Regions from separate parts of the Homo sapiens genome. Here all the other regions are linked to region 3. Evidence: promoter capture Hi-C in 16 types of primary human blood cells and fetal thymus (Javierre and others, 2016). All regions are on one chromosome and are shown on one strand. The core of a region is centred on a gene start or on the middle of the fragment in contact, and the rest is flanking DNA. Distances in the headings are between cores, read along the strand shown. Region 1 overlaps PRPF19 (pre-mRNA processing factor 19). Region 2 overlaps TMEM109 (transmembrane protein 109). Region 3 holds the start of DDB1 (damage specific DNA binding protein 1).

Region 1 (2,700 bases), core at 127-2,626, 440 kb before region 3:
ACTGGCCTAGTTTCAATATTGTTGTGTCTAAGGAAATAGGGAAGTCTGAGAGGGAGAGAGATGGGGAACGGCTGGTGGGTGGAGTGGTCAGAACACACACAGCATTTCATTTATCAAATAAATTCAGTAACTTTTATGGGCACATTTCATGGTGCCCCCCCGCCCAACAATTACAATAGCAACATCAAAGATCACTAACGGACACAATAAATCATGAAGAAGTTTGAAATACTGTAAGAATTACCAAAATTTGACACACAGACACAAAGTGAACACATGTTGTTGGAAAAATGGTACTGACAGACTTGCTTGGGGCAAGGTTGCCAAAAACCTTCAATTTATAAAAAGCAAAGTATCCATAAAATACAATAAAGCTAAGTGCAATAAGACAAGGTATGCCTATACTATACTTTTTTTGGTATTAAATATACTCTTCCCACTTATAAAAAAAAGTTAACTGTAAAACAGCACCAAGCAGGCCCTTTCAGGAGGTATCCGAGAAGAAGGCATTATCATCATAGGAGATGACAGGTTTATGCATGTTGGTGCCCCCGAAGACCTTCCGGTGGGAAAAGATGTGGAGGTAGAAGACAGTGATGTTGGTGCTATGGTTAGGCTTTGTGCCGCCACCCAAATCTCATCTTGAATTGTAGTGCCCATAATCCCCACGTGTTGTGGGAGGGAGCCAGTGGGAAGTAACTGAATCATGGGGGTGGTTACCCCCATGCTGTTCTCATGATAGTGAGTTCTCACGAGATCTGATGGTTTTATGAGGGGCTTTAGCCCCTTTGCTCAGCATTTGTCTCTCCTGTTGCCATGTAAAGAAAGACATGTTTGCTTTCCCTGCTGCTATGACTGTAAGTTTCCTGAGGCCTCCCGAGTCACTGTGAGTCAATTAAACCTCTTTCCCTTATCAATTACCCAGGCAGTTCTTCATAGCAGTGTGAGAACGGACTAATACAGTTGGTGATCCTGATCCTGTGTAGGCCTAGGGTAATGTGTGCTTGTGTCTTAGTTTTTAACAAGAAAAGTTTAAAAAGTAAAAAATAAAAATAAAAAAATTAGAAAAAAGCTTATAGAACAAGGATGTAAAGAGAGACAATATTTTTGTACAGCTGTACAATGTGTTTTAGTTTTAAGTTAAATGTTATTACAAAAGAATCCATTTTTTTAAGTTTATAAAGTAAAAGTCAGCTAAGGCTTATTACTGAAGAAAAAGTTTTTTATGAATTTAGTAAAACCTAAGTGTACTGTGTTTATAAAGTCTACAGCAGCGTACAGTAATGTCCTAGGCCTTCACATTCACTCACAACTCACTCACTGAAAGCAACTTCCAGTCCTGCAAGCTCCTTTCATGGCAAGCACTATACCAGTGTACCATTTTAAAAAAATCTCTTATACCTTATTTTTACTGAACCTTTTCTATGTTTACACTTGTTTAGATACACAAATACTTACCATTGTGTTATAATTGTATTCACTACATTTAATATGCTGTACCGGTTTGTAGCCTAGGAGCAATAATAGACTATACTAAGGTTATAGCAATAGTCTTGGCGTGTAGTAGGCTACACCATTTAGATATATGTAAGTTCACTCTACAATGGTCGCACATGACGATATCACCTAACAAGACATTTCTCAGAACATATCCCCATTATTAAGTGATATATAAACTGTATAAGCTTCAATCATCTGACCCTTCTGCAGATCTAATATAATGTGGGCCTCCCGTGCATATGCACGTAATTAAAATGGCTCTCCTCCTGTCACTGTCTAATGTTCATTTATTTTAGATTCAGTTATCAAAACTTCAGAGGGACTTTTCTCTCCCTTTAGTAACCTGCCCAATGCCACAGGGCATGGAAGTGGCAGAACAAGCACTAGCATCTACTGCCATGCAGTCTGACTCAGTTGCTTCCTTAGTCATAAAGCTCTGCCTCAGGTGGTAACAGAAAGCTGCTTAGGTAAATTCATGCAAGCCCTAGAAATTCCTAACCCAGTGAGGCTTCCCTCCGGGCCTGGGCACCTAGAGAGATCCCAGGAGCCCAGGACCAGCCTCTACCTGTAAAGTGAAGAATCTCCGTCCATTGTTTGCAGATGTAGATCTGGACATCCGTGCCCCCAAGAGCCAGGTAGGTACCACTCTGGTCAAAGATCAGTGACTTTACCTGCCAGAAATAGAAAGAGAGAAGGTCACACAAGGGGAACAGAAACTATGGGGCAGTTGCGGATAAGCAGAAGCAATTAGATTAATTCAATAAATAATTGACAAACAAGGAGACACAATGGAAAGCTGGGCGGAGGGGGAAGGGCACACCTCAAAGTTGTTATCCAGCTGCAAAGTCTTAAAGTTCTTAAGCTTGCGCAGATCCCAGAGCTTGACAGAGGAGTCATCAGCCGCTGTAGCCAGGTAGTAACCATTCTCAGAGAAGGCGATGCTAGTGATGGGGCCCGAGTGGCCAGGGAAGTTGGCCACATTAGTACGTTCCTACAGTGGCGGTGGGTAGTAAAATACGTCACCCACAGATCATGAGAGGAAGAAAATGGGGCTCACCAAACTCCTACCTGAGATGTCCCTCACGTCCTTCCAGGAAGGACAGCCAGCGGGACCCCCCAGACCACACCATCATATCACACACGCACAGCCAGTGTCTCTCCACCTTCAGGGCCAGGTGCCACAAGCACCTAATTAGCACT
Region 2 (2,700 bases), core at 61-2,560, 410 kb before region 3:
AGATGACATATGTGCAGTTATTCTTGTTTGAGCACATAACTGAGCACTTTTCTTTATACCATTATATGGCAGTAATCCTACTTGTGTGCTATTTTTAAGTTGTTTTTTATACCAGCTGTATCTTAAGTAGATTATAAGCTCCTTGGGACAGAGCCTTTATAGAGTCTTATAATACTTTTATGCCTATAGCACCTAAGATACAGGGACAGGCCTTCAGATTTTTAGAACTGGCACAAACCTTAGAGAGATCTTCTCGCCAACTCTAAAGTGTTGAATAATACTTGCTGGTTAATTAATATGCAAGTGGTAAAGAATGTGAAAGAGGAACCTGTGAGTCAGATGGTTGTGCCCAGCTTCAGTTGGAAGTCCCAGTCCTTCCTCTCCCAGCTAACAGCACTTTCTTTCCAGGGTTAGTTTGGTGCTTGCTTGGGGTAGGGGTGGAGAAGGATGTTGGGATAATCAGAGCTGAGAGGGTGAGTGTGTCTACCATGGCACTCAGCTCACTGTGCTTCTCTCCTGGCAGACCCAGTCATGGCAGCCTCCAGCATCAGTTCACCATGGGGAAAGCATGTGTTCAAAGCCATTCTGATGGTCCTAGTGGCCCTTATCCTCCTCCACTCAGCATTGGCCCAGTCCCGTCGAGACTTTGCACCACCAGGCCAACAGAAGAGAGAAGCCCCAGTTGATGTCTTGACCCAGATAGGTCGATCTGTGCGAGGGACACTGGATGCCTGGATTGGGCCAGAGACCATGCACCTGGTGTCAGAGGTAAGGAAGGTAGTCCCTGTGTGACTACACACATTAAGGAAAAATAAAAGAAGAAAGGTTGGTAATGGCCACCTCATCTTAGTTCCACATCCTCTCTGGTGCAGAGAGCCCCAAATTCCACAAAAAGAAGCCACACAGCACTTGTCTTTGAATTCCTCGTTATTTGATTGCTGTCCTAGGGCCTTTTAGCTCCACCCCTATCCTTTCCTGGCTCCTGCCCTTTCCTTGCCAGAAAGGCTGGGAAATGAGCCATCTTTATAAGCCCATGTTACTGGGTGACTGTAGAGTCTCACTTTGGTCTAAATCTGACCTAGAATCTCGAAATGGCAAAATATCAAGTCCTGAATCCATTCCTTCACCTGCAGAAGTGGGTTGAGCTTATTGGGAGCCTAAGGCAGGGTTATCTTTTTTTACCTGGTGGCATCCCAAGCATGGTATCACATACTTTTGATAGGCTGGACTGAAGGGCTGAGACAATCATTTATTAAATCCATAATATAGTATAGCTGATAGACTCCTTTTTCACTGGAACATCCTATCCCTTTACAGATGTTCTCCACGCACCTTCATGACTCCCTGGACAGCTAGCAGGCCTCCAGTTTTATAGGGTGACTACTAAAAGTATTTGATTGTCTCCGTCATTCACACACAAGTACACCTACTACTCCCTCCAAAGTATCCCAGCAAAGCAGTTAAATTATGTCCCAGATGCCCTAGTTTCCAGTTCAGGAAGGAGAGACAGCCTGTTGGCCATCCCTGTAGACTAGAAGGTGGATGTGGAAGGGACCCCTCAGCCAGGCCCAAGGCCCCTACCCTCTGACCCAGGCCTGTCACCACTGGGTGAGAAACAGGTCTGAGACATTCCTGCAGTTCTTGCCTGGACAGTGGTGATCAGGCGTGAAGGCGAGGACCGTTGTTCATTATGAACTCATCTCGCTCCGTGCTCTTTCCACAGTCTTCGTCCCAAGTGTTGTGGGCCATCTCATCAGCCATTTCTGTGGCCTTCTTTGCTCTGTCTGGGATCGCCGCACAGCTGCTGAATGCCTTGGGACTAGCTGGTGAGTGTTCGAGTGCTGGGTAGTCAGCCAGAGCTTTGCCTGTACTTTCCTACTTGTGGGAGTTCATCTTTGTCAGGGTCTAGCCTTTTCCCCAAGCTGCTTAACCCTTCCCAGGATTCTGCAGAGACATGGCCAAAGAGCAAGCCAAGAACTACCATGGCCAGGTGTGGTGGCTCCCGCCTGTAATCCCAGCACTTTGGGAGGTCAAGGCAGGAGGGTCACTTGAGGCCAGAAGTTTGAGACCAGCCTGGGCAATATAATGAGACCTCGTCTCTATAAAAAATTAGCCAAGCATGGTGGCGTGTGTCTGTTGTCCCAGCTACTTGGGAGCTGAGGTGGGAGGATCGCTTGAGCCCAGGAGGTAGAGGTTGCAGTGAGCCGGGATCACGTCACTGCACTCCAGCCTCGGCGATGGAGCAAAACCCTGTCCCACCCAGACCCCCTAAAAAAGAACTTCCGCCACCACGTGCCAGTTGTTCACTTCCTATCAGGCATCGTGCTGAGCTGTAGTATCTCATTTAATTGCCAGCCACAGTACAGGGAGGCAGTAGAATTGTTCCCGTTTAGTAAATGAAACTGCAGCTCAACAGAAGCAAGTAATCTACTCCAGGCCTCACAGCCAGCAAGAAACAGAGCTGAGATTCCAACCCATATCACTCTGAGTCTGCGAGAACGGCTTATTCCTTTGCAATGTGCCTAGCACCTCCCACCCTTTTAGCTCTTGCCCCGCTCTCCCCTCACCACTTCTCCAGGTTGGCTGACTCTGTGACTCTCTTGGCTTCCAGGTGATTACCTCGCCCAGGGCCTGAAGCTCAGCCCTGGCCAGGTCCAGACCTTCCTGCTGTGGGGAGCAGGGGCCCTGGTCGTCTACTGG
Region 3 (2,700 bases), core at 20-2,519:
TTGCCAAATCCGGCACCTCAAAGAGTCTCAGTTCATGCATTCAACAAAGCTACTTCCCTAATCAGACTAAGAAAACTGGACTGGACCTAAGAGCCGTGTGTCCTCCAAATGACAATGACTGCGTAATCCCTTCTCATGCCTCTTGCCCCTCCAATTTTACTCTATTACAGTTACAGTGGCAGGCTCTAATTGAGAATGCCGGAGAAAGTGTTCACTTCTTCCAGTCTTCATCTAAAGTCTCACAAAACTTTTATCTGACAGACCAAGTCAAATGAAGAAGTCCCAGAGCTTTATATGAAAACACTGTTTTGTCCACACCCCCTGCCCTCCTGGCAGTCTACCAATACCTCCATCCACACTCAGCTACCTCCAACTCTGAACAACAGTTTTGTTTTGGAATCATGATTAGGGTGTATATAAACATGCAAGCTTGGGGTCTGCATATTCAGCTGAGAATGTGGGTTAAGATGACTCTTCCCGGGTTCTGAACATCGGTGTCCTTAACAATCCAAGCGCATCGTCAACAAGGCAAACCCAGCACTGGGCCAGGCAAACCAAACCCTCTTCTCCAGCAGGGCCCTCATGTAAACAACAGCCCCAGGCAAAGGGGTTAGCCTGAAGAGGGCTCCTCTCCCTCTGTGGGATAATGCGGGCATTCCTCACATCCCTCCACCTCCTGGGCCCCCCAGACTTCCCCACAGGAAAATCTTGACCCCAAAGTCGTCATTACCACCTCCCCTTTTCCTGGCCACAGAAAGCCAATCTCCGGGCCCAAACGACACCGCACAACCAACTCACACTCCTCTGTCTCACTGGGCCCGCCCTGTTCTCGAGGCCGAATGACCTCCCCAGGACGAAAGGGGACCCTCGAGAGCGGCTTCCAACCCCCAAAAAGCGCGTACAGGGACGACTCTTTCGAGGTCGCGGTGCTGGGGGAGGTTCCTCGGCCGCCAGCGCCTTCCATTCGCCGGGCCCACTCCTGCCCGGCCGCCCCCGGGGCGGCGGGCCTCCCTAGGCCGCGGCTCCCCCCAACTCCCTCACTCGCCGGGGTCTCCGGCCCCGGCAGCCTCACCGGTCACGCAGCCGTTCACGGCGGTGGGCTTCTGGGCCGTTACCACGTAGTTGTACGACATGTCGAGGCTTGGAGCGGCCCGTCGGGACTCGAGCGCGACACTAGAAAGAGGGACACAAGCGAAAAGACAGGTGGCCCCCAACAGCGCGCAGCGAACTCCACTGCCGCTGCCTCCGCCCCAGAGACACGTTGCAGGCCAGAGCGGCCGGGGCGCGGGGCATCACGGGACGGCCTCACCTGGCCTCTTGGAGGACTCCCGAAGCCCGAGGCCGCCAACCGAAGGAGGCCCCGCCCCCGGAGGCACCGCCTCGCCTCTTTCCGCCAGCGCCCGCAGGACCCGGATGAGAGCGCACGCTTCGGGGTCTCCGGGAAGTCGCGGCGCCTTCGGATGTGGCGGATGCGGCCGTGAGCCGGCGGGGGAGGTGCGCCAGTGTCCTCCGAGCTCGCCCGCAGACTCCCCACCCCGTTCCGCGCCCTTTGCCCTTCCCCGCATCCAGTCCTCCTTCCGTTGCTCCAGGAGCCCTCGGGCTGTTCCTCCTTTGGGAACGGGAAGGACTGCGGAGGCATAGAGAGGGAAGGGAGACCGCGATTCGTGCATATCCCAGACTAGAACCTTGCCTGCTTTCCTTTCACTGTCTCAGTTCCTCCAGATCCAGCTGGTGCCCTCGCCTGACGTTTGAACGACCACCTGCTCACCTCCTCCCTTTTGCGCGTTGATTCTTCAGACTTCAAAGGGCCCACCGGTCTGCTTGCCCAACGTTATTAGTGCCCCTATTGCTCTACAAATTCGAACCTCAAACACAAAACCAGTATTTCTCCGTAGGGAACCTTAATGAGCCAGGAGAGCCGTCAGCCCTGCAGCCTCCAGGGTACCCCACATCAAACAGGCTCCCCGGGAACAAGAGGAATACCACGTGGCTTGGCACACTCGCAGAATGCCAGAGAGGAGCCAACCCCCATTTTACAGATGAGGAAGCTGAGGCTTAGGGAGGAATTGGTTTACCTAAGACCCTCCCCACAACCCCAAGTAGGCTGAGGCAGAGCTATGTTGATTCTTCCTATTGTGCACCCACACAGAGGCCAACACGCTGCTGAACCAGGCTGAACTGAGGAAAAGCTAGAAAGTCATCGTGGTTTACATCTTGCCTTTCCCATAGCAGAGACTCTGCCTGACTTTGGAGGCACTGAATTATCAGTAGTAAAAACACACTCTGTAGAAAAACTAGACATTGGTTTAGATTCTGGCTGTTACCTGTATTACCTTGGACAAGTCCCTAGAGCTCTCTGAGTCTGTTTCCCAGAAGTAAAATGGGTCACAAACCTGGCTAGCTCCCCCCATTCCCTTCCCTTTTGGTGCCAAGGCCAGTGAGGGCAAGCGTGTGACGAGCTTTGTTAACTTTTTCGCTGCATGTGATGCCCGTGTAAAAGATAGTTATTCTGAGGATCACTGTCCTTTAGTGATGAAGTGGGTGCTGTTCCTGGACATAAAGGCAGACCTGTGCTTGACATGGATTGATCTGTCTTCTGGCAGTGAAGTGCAGGCATGAACCTTGGTCAGCCCCACACTCTTCTCCATCCGTAGCCCATGTACTAGAGTTTGGACTTGGACCGAAGTCTGGGGCAGCTCC

Evidence for each region. The method cuts DNA at HindIII sites, captures the fragments that hold promoters and counts their contacts. A CHiCAGO score of 5 or more calls a contact.
Region 1: a contact is called between a fragment that was not itself captured here and the fragment with the promoter of DDB1 in region 3, in 3 of 17 cell types (total CD4 T cells, activated CD4 T cells and non-activated CD4 T cells). The highest score is 6.4, in total CD4 T cells.
Region 2: a contact is called between a fragment that was not itself captured here and the fragment with the promoter of DDB1 in region 3, in 3 of 17 cell types (total CD8 T cells, naive CD4 T cells and non-activated CD4 T cells). The highest score is 7.2, in total CD8 T cells.

Annotation. Positions count from the first base shown.
Region 1 is chr11:60,895,781-60,898,480 of GRCh38, forward strand. PRPF19 (pre-mRNA processing factor 19) reads right to left here. Exons shown (of 16, transcript NM_014502.5): 14 at 2,321-2,491; 15 at 2,066-2,171. Among named protein-coding and RNA genes, the nearest start is that of PRPF19, 9.5 kb to the right of the region's middle. The HindIII fragment of the contact is 613 bases long and covers 1,071-1,683 here.
Region 2 is chr11:60,919,163-60,921,862 of GRCh38, forward strand. TMEM109 (transmembrane protein 109) reads left to right here. Exons shown (of 4, transcript NM_024092.3): 2 at 524-768; 3 at 1,724-1,826; 4 at 2,612-2,700. The coding sequence starts at 532. The region is part of intron 1 of LOC124902676 (a long non-coding RNA gene); the gene reads right to left. Among named protein-coding and RNA genes, the nearest start is that of TMEM132A, 3.9 kb to the right of the region's middle. RefSeq lists an enhancer at 1-874. The HindIII fragment of the contact is 2,902 bases long and covers 1-2,700 here.
Region 3 is chr11:61,331,836-61,334,535 of GRCh38, forward strand. DDB1 (damage specific DNA binding protein 1) reads right to left here and starts at 1,270. Exons shown (of 27, transcript NM_001923.5): 1 at 1,073-1,270. The coding sequence starts at 1,133. It overlaps TKFC (triokinase and FMN cyclase), which reads left to right and starts at 1,393. Exons shown (of 18, transcript NM_015533.4): 1 at 1,393-1,494. RefSeq lists enhancers at 832-1,354, 1,355-1,877 and a silencer at 1,273-1,532. The HindIII fragment of the contact is 9,653 bases long and covers 428-2,700 here.